2 separate regions of the Homo sapiens genome follow, and region 1 is linked to region 2. The links are contacts of gene promoters, found by promoter capture Hi-C in human tissues and cell types (Jung and others, 2019). All regions are on one chromosome and are shown on one strand. Each heading gives the region's core, a stretch centred on a gene start or on the middle of the fragment in contact. The rest is flanking DNA. Distances are from core to core; before and after follow the strand shown.

Region 1 (3,573 bases), core at 491-2,990, 360 kb after region 2:
TTTCAGCTCAGCTAGCAGGGAGCTATGTGACTGCACCAGGGCTGAGCCAACCCACCTGTGCATGAGTGACAGCACCTCACGGGTTCCAGAGCTCGCATGTCCATGGTCCAGCTTAGTGCGTGGCACGCCAAGAATACTTGAGAAATGGCAGCTAAGGACTGTCGCCTCAGGAGGGTCTCTTCTCATTTCCAAAGCTGTCTTCTGCTTGATGAAATGCACACAGACACTGGGCAAGTATGTGTTGAGCTTCTAATCTCTCCCAGACACCGGAGACTCAGCCATAGACTGGCCGAGTTCCCTGCCCTTGTGCTGCACTCCCCTTGAGGAGACAGATGATGGGGACATGTAAGGAGCTAAGACATCCTGAGCTGGGAAGGAGGGAAGCAGGGGCTAAGGGATGGAGGCAGCTGGTGGGGGCAGGTGGGGGTGGCAGGGATGCCTGGAGCCTGGGACTGGGGCCGGACTCTGCACTGCTCTGCTTGAGGACCTAGCTGGGCTCTGACTCATGAGGGCAGACAGTGGCCAGGGTGAGGCTGGCGCAGTGCAGCCCCTTCCCCACTGCTGAAGACGCTGCCTTTGTGGGGTGGTAGCACAGGCTTTGGGGAGTTGAGAGCCATCCTCATCCTAGAGGTGGTTGTTTCTGGAAGCAAAAATCCAGGGTTTATGCTCCTGGGACAGGGGAACCTTGGGGCCTCGCGTCCTCCCCATAACCTTCGCATTGGGCAGCAAAGGCATCTTCCTGTTGAGTCTGAGGGAGAGAGAAGTGGTGTCACTCGCGGTGTCAGCTTTCATCTCACAGTGGCCCTGTGAGGTAAGGACCATGATCAACCCAGTTTACAGATGAGGACACTGAGGCTCAGAGAAGTTACATGGTTTGTCCAAAGTGACACACTAAGTGGCTGAATGGGATTGAATCCAGGTCTCTCTGAGACAGCCCAAGCTGTTGATGGAACCCTCTGGCTCACGGATGAGCAGGTAAAGTGAACAAACACTTTAGAATGCTTATCTGGGGGTGGGGGTGCAGGGAATTGAGCCTTCTATGGGGCCCGGAAGATTTACAGTTGTCCCTCGGTGTGTGTAGGGGAATCAGTTTCACCACCTTCCACAAATACCAAAATCCACAGATGTTCAAGTCCTGATATAAAATGGTGCAGTATTTGCATATAGCCTAAGTACATCTTCCCGTAGACTTTAAATCATCTCTAGATTACTTATGCAATCACATGTCAGATAATGATATTTCAGTCCATGCCAGAATGCACATAGGATGGTGGTCCCATAAGATTATAATGGAACTGCCCTATACAGGTGCACCATCTCTAAAAATTGATATCTCAAAAGAGATGGGGTCTTTTTATATTGCCCAGACTAGTCTAGAAGTCCTGGGCTCAAGTGATCCTCCCAGCATGGCCTCCCAAAGTGCTGGGATTGTAGGTATGAACCACCATACTTGGCCAGGTGTACCATTTTTTATCATTTATACTGTATTTTTATGATCCTTTTCTGTGTTTAAATACACAAATAGCCACCATTGTTTTTGTTTGTTTGCTTGTTTGTTTGAGACAGAGTTTCACTCTTGTTGCCCAGGTTGGAGTGCAATGATGCGATCTCAGCTCACTGCAATCTCCGCCTCCCAGGTTCAAGCGATTCTCCTGCCTCAGCCTCCTGAGTATTTGGGATTACAGGTGCCCGTCACCATGCCCAGCAGATATCTGGGCAGCCATTTTTTGTATTTTTAGTAGAGACGGGGTTTCACCGCGTTGGCCAGGCTGGTCTCAATCTCTTAACCTCAGGTGATCCAGCCGCCTCGGCCTCCCAAAGTGCTGGGATTACAGGCATGAGCCACCATGCCCGGCCCACAAATAGCCGCCATTATGTTACCATTGCCTATAGTACTTAGTACAGTAACATGTTGCAGAGGTTTGGAACCCAGCAGCAACCAGCTCTACTATTCAGCCCAGGTGTGTGTTTGGCTGTAGCCTCTGGAGGAAGCTAAGGAGAAGTGACCTAAAGGCAGAGGGTGAGTCTGAGGTGGGATCCCAGGACAGGTACAAGAAGTTAGGCAAAAGAGGATGAAATCTGAAAAAATTTCACTATGTTAATATAATTACTGCGTTAATAACTTTAGATAATAGTTAACATTATTATTTAGTTAACAGGATTGCACCCAAGATAAATTAATTTTTTTAAAGAGATAAATTCTCATTCTGTCACCTAGGCTGGAGTGCAGTGGTGCGATCATAGCTCACTGCTTCCTGGAACTCTTGGGCTCGAGCAATCCTCCTGCCTCAGCCTCCTGATTAGGTGGGACTATAGGCACACGCCATCATGCCTGGCTATTTTTTTTTACTTTTCTCTAGAGGCAAGGCCTACCTGTGTTGCGCAGGCTGGTCTCAAACTCCTGGGCTCAAGTGAACCTGCCTCAACCTCTCAAATTGCTGGGATTACAGGTGTGAGCCACTACAGCCAGCCCACATTTCTTAGTTTGGACAAATGTGCCATGGTAATGCAAAATGTCATTACTAGGGGCAGCTGGGTATAAGGTGTAGAGTACACTACAGTGTCTTTTCAATTTTTCTGTGTATCTAGAATCATTTCAAAAGTAAACATTTATTTTAAAACGTGAAAGTGTTTATCCTTCCATGAGTGTAAAGTACAAAAGACAGGCTCATGGTGTCAACGGAAGTCAGGACACTGGTTGTGGGGCCGGGGGCGCTGGAGGGGCTGGCCATGGTTGGCTTTGTGATCTGGGGGCTGGTGTGTTCCATCTGTGAATGTCTTTCGAGCTGCACACTTACCAGGGATGTAAGTCATGTCTTAATACATTTTCTTAAGTTTAACACCAAATAAAATGAGAATGAAAAGCTTGTTTGGGTTGTGGGGATTCGGTTGTTTATCCAGTCATGAGCCCTGGCCTAGATGCTTCTAGAAGCCTGGAGGGAACTGAGAACATTCCAAGTAGAGGTGGCAGAGCCAAGGCCCTGAGGTGGGAACACACTGCTGCATGTCTCTAGCTGTGAATGGGGTCCCCTAGTCGGAAGCAGTGCTGTGTGCCCTGCAGGGCCAGCAGGTCCATGTCCACATTATGGGTCAGTGCAGTGAAAGCCAATCTCAGCCCCCTCCGCAGTGTGACCAGCCTGCCAGCAGGTGGCCAGCTGGTCCATCCCAGGGACTGGGTGCAAGTCTCTTGTCAATAGAGAGGGCGCTCAGCCATGGTGTCAGCCTAGTGAGCCTTGGTAAGGGCCCGTGCAGGATGCTGAACCTCTTCCGTCCCCATGACCGTCTCAAGACCACTTGCTCGGTGGGCGCATCCAGCAGGCGTGGTGGCCGGGAAAGAAGCAGGCTGCATCCATAGGGCGTGCCATTTTGCTCGACTCAGGACCCAGAGCATCCTCCGTAGTAATTCTCTTCGGTGGGAGCACTGGGAACTTGAGCCACAGATACCTTCCAAGTCTGAGCTGCTGAGGCGAGGGCTGCAGGGCGCCCTGCTGTCAGGAAAGCCTGCACCAGCAGCTGGAAGGCACGTGGTGGGGGCGCCTGCTGTGGCTCCAGCAGTGGCTGCGAGGCTTCGGG
Region 2 (3,630 bases), core at 644-3,143:
AGATCACACCACTGCACTCCAGCCTGGGCGAAGAGTGAGACCCTGTCTCAATAAATACATAAAAAGGCCAGGCGCCGTGGCTCACACCTGTAATCCCAGAACTTTGGAAGGCCGAGGTGAGTGGATCACGAGTTCAGGAGTTTGAGACCAGCCTGTCCAAGATGGTGAAACCCCGTATTTTCTACTGAATTTTGTATTTTCTACTGAAAATACAAAAATTAGCTGGGCACGGTGGCGGGCGCCTGTAATCCCAGCTACTCGGGAGGCTGAGGCAGGAGAATCGGTTGAACCCAGGAGGCGGAAGTTGCAGTGAGCGGAGATGGTGCCACTGCACTCTAGTCTGGGCGACAGAGCAAGACTCAGTCTCAAAAAAATAAACAAATAAATAAAAATAAGTAAATAAATAAATAAAAACTACATTGGTTCGGTGCAGAAAGACCGGAAACTTGAAGTGGGGGCTTCCACATTATAGGCAGATTTAAACATTTTCTGATTGGCAATGAGTTGAAATAGTTATTATCAATAGGCCTGGTGCGGTGGCACACGCCTGTAATCCAAGCATTTTGGGAGGCCGAGGCAAGTGGATTACTTGAGCTCAGGAGTTTGAGATGAGAGTGGACAACATGGCGAAACCCTGTGTCTACAAAAAAAATGGAAAAATTAGCCAGGCATGGTGGTGCCCGCCTGTAGTCCCAGTTACTCAGGAGGCTAAGGTAGGAGGATAGCTTGAGCCTGAAAGACAGAGGTTGCAGCGAACCAAGAACTCATCACTGGACTCCAGCCTGGGCAACAGAGTTAGACCCTGTCTCAAAAAAAAAAAAGTTATTATCAATAGAAATGAATGTCTGGGTTATGATAAGGGATTGTGGACACCAAAGTTTTATCACGCACGTGAAGCCTCCAAGTGGCAGGTGGGCTCCAGAGAGAACAGATTGTAAATGTTTCTTACCAGTCTTAAGGTCTGTTGTGTTGATGTCAATGCTGAAGGATGTAATGAGGCATGTCTCATGTCCTGCTTCCCGTCATGGCCTGAACCAGTCTCTCAGGTTGGTTACATTTTAGACTGCCCTGGCCTAGGAGGAAGTCCGTTCAGATGGTTTGGTGTTGGGGGGGGGGTGGGGGCTTAGTTTTTTGTTTTGTTTTGTTTTGTTTTTTTGGCTTACAGAGTTTAGACTGAAGCCTTTGACTCTGTATCTGGCATTTCCTTAGACCACATGCTGTAGGGCTGGGCTCATGAAGGTTCTCACCTACACACCAGGTTGCTCCCTTGAGAAGGGGGACTTTGCTGGATCCTATAACCTAGCTAGTAGGAAGTAAAGGAGCTTGGGAACCAGACAAGCCTGAGTTTAAATCCTCTTTCCCGCGCCGCCCCACCTCCACTGATAGGTGTGTGACTCCGGGCAAATAAGTGATCGTTTTCTGTGCCTCAGTTTCCTCATCTGAAAAGTGGAGCTAGTAAGAACTCACAGTGGTTGCTACGAGGCTACGGTTAAGGGAAGACTTCTCCTGCACACCTCAAGCACAGTTTCCCTCCCCTTGGCGATATCCAAGAGCACTCACATCCGCCACAGCCCTCTCTGCTCATCGGGCCCTCGGGGTAGAAGTGAGTTAATTCCTGGCTAAATGTTAGTCTCAAACCACCGGGAAAACCACCCAGTTGCCCCAGACAGTGCAGCGGAGGGTGGGTGCGGCTATCAGGTCGACGCTAGAGACGCGGCGAAGGCGGGTGCGGAGGCCTAGCTCCCCCGAGCGCATTCCACCCTCCACAGAACCTCGGCCTGTGACCACGGCCTTTCTCAACACTGCGCCGCCCCCTGGCCGCCCCTCGCCATCCCGCCGCGCTGACGTGAGTGCGCGCGCGTCCGCCGCGCCCGCCCCGGCGCATGCGCGCTCTGCGCTGTCTTCTCCCGGCCTGAGCAGCAGCAGCTGCGGCGGCGGCGGCGTTTGAGTGGAGGAAGATGGCGGCTCCGGGCGGCTCGGGGTCCCGCCAGCTGTGAGGAGCCCCGAGCACGGCTGTCGCGGCCTGAGGCAGAGCGCCTCTGCTCTGGCCCTGTCCCTGGCTCCCTCATTACCGTCGCCAGCGGAGCGAACCCGAGAGCGTGGAGCGGGCTGGGCCAGGTGAGGCCTCTCCTCCTCCCCGGGCCGCAGAGGGGAGCCGGCGCCTTCTGCCCTTTATGCCCGGGACTGGCAAGGGGCAGCGGGCGCCCGGGGTCTGACGCAGGCCCCGTATCCCACGCGGGGGTCGGTCCTGGTTGGGCAGGGTGACTTGCTATCGCCGTCCTCGAGTGAGGCGAGGAGGAGGACAGCTCCTTTCCAGCCAGCCCTTGGGTTGGGAGCGAACCCACCCCCTCTCCTCAGCAGGGTGGTTCTCGTCCCCTCACCCGGGCAGTGAAGGGGTGTGTGGCCCGGGCAAGGATGGCTTTAGGGTGTCAGGTAATCTTTCATCGCTCCTCCGAACATTTCACTCCTTTGCGAGAGAGGAGTCGGGGGTCGGGTGCCCATCAAAATTGGGGCTGCGGCTGGGGGCTAGCATCTCTGAACCTGCAGCTGCAAAGGGATAATTTTGGAATTGGTTTACGTTAAATAAAACACAAAAGGCCTTTCCTATCCCCTAGCTTGTTGAGTGTTCCCTTAGAGAAATGGGAACTGCGGATCTCCTTGCTTGAGACAGCAATCCATGCTGTGACTGTGGAAGGCTTCTCTTGGCGAGAATTGTGTGTGCAAAGGGAACGGTGGAGGGTGGGAACGAATTTGTAAGCGAAGAGAAAACGATTGTGAGATCTTGATGGTCGCTGCAGAGTAACTTCAGCGCTGAGTTCGTTTGAAACCTTCGGTTTGTTAAGATTCAGAATAACCAATTGCTTTGTCTGTTAAATCTCCCGATTTCTGTTAGGAAAATAAAAGCCTCATTTCTTAATTGCCAGAGTCTGGATTTTTCTGTGGTGGGATTCTGATCGATCTAGATGAAGATTCTGACACATTACCAGTTTTACTTGCTGGCAGTTGCTGGCCCCGACGTTGAAACTATGTTGTTCCTTTTTGAGAACAACTTTTATTGCTGTTTAAATGCTAATTGGGAGACTTCGATTGTGTTTCTGTCATGTAGGGAAGTCGGTTTGAAGCCTTGTGGTCTCTTTCTTGAGGAATGATGGCTTCACTGAACTTGTGCTATGCAGAATTGTTGAGGCGATTGCTTTTGCTTGGACACACCAAAATATCTTTTGTAACAAATTGGCTTTACTTCTGCTTAAGAATGATGACATCATGGATTTAAAGAGGCAAGGAAAATTTGGGGGAAGTACCATCATTTAGAATTGAATATTTAGAATTAAGTCTGTATATCTTATGGCCATTAGTGATGCTGTGTTAAATTGCTAACTTTGAGTGTATTCACGTGTGTAATCTGATTGGGTGTCTTTTCTATTGTATGTTGTCATTTTATACCCAGTAACTGTTTGCTTTTGACAAGCCAGTATAAATAGATGATTCAATCTACATTGATCCATAGGCATGTTGCGTATCTTAAAAAGCTTTTCATTGTTAAAATGACAACTGTTTAGGTTATTATTTGACCATTTTCTTTCTTTCTTTCTTTCTTTCTTTCTTTCTTTCTTTTTTTTTTTTTTTTTG

The links. Contacts are between HindIII fragments. The study calls those that stand out against the background at their distance.
Region 1: a contact is called between a fragment that was not itself captured here and the fragment with the promoter of FBXO42 in region 2, in 2 of the 25 tissues and cell types used here (adrenal gland and thymus).

What each region holds. Positions count from the first base shown.
Region 1 is chr1:15,994,295-15,997,867 of GRCh38, reverse strand. It overlaps the pseudogene TBC1D3P6. Among named protein-coding and RNA genes, the nearest start is that of SRARP, 8.2 kb to the left of the region's middle. RefSeq lists a silencer at 3,076-3,225 and an enhancer at 3,132-3,573. The HindIII fragment of the contact is 7,612 bases long and covers 1-3,573 here.
Region 2 is chr1:16,350,743-16,354,372 of GRCh38, reverse strand. FBXO42 (F-box protein 42) reads left to right here and starts at 1,893. Exons shown (of 10, transcript NM_018994.3): 1 at 1,893-2,118. RefSeq lists an enhancer at 1,854-2,628. The HindIII fragment of the contact is 10,214 bases long and covers 1-3,630 here.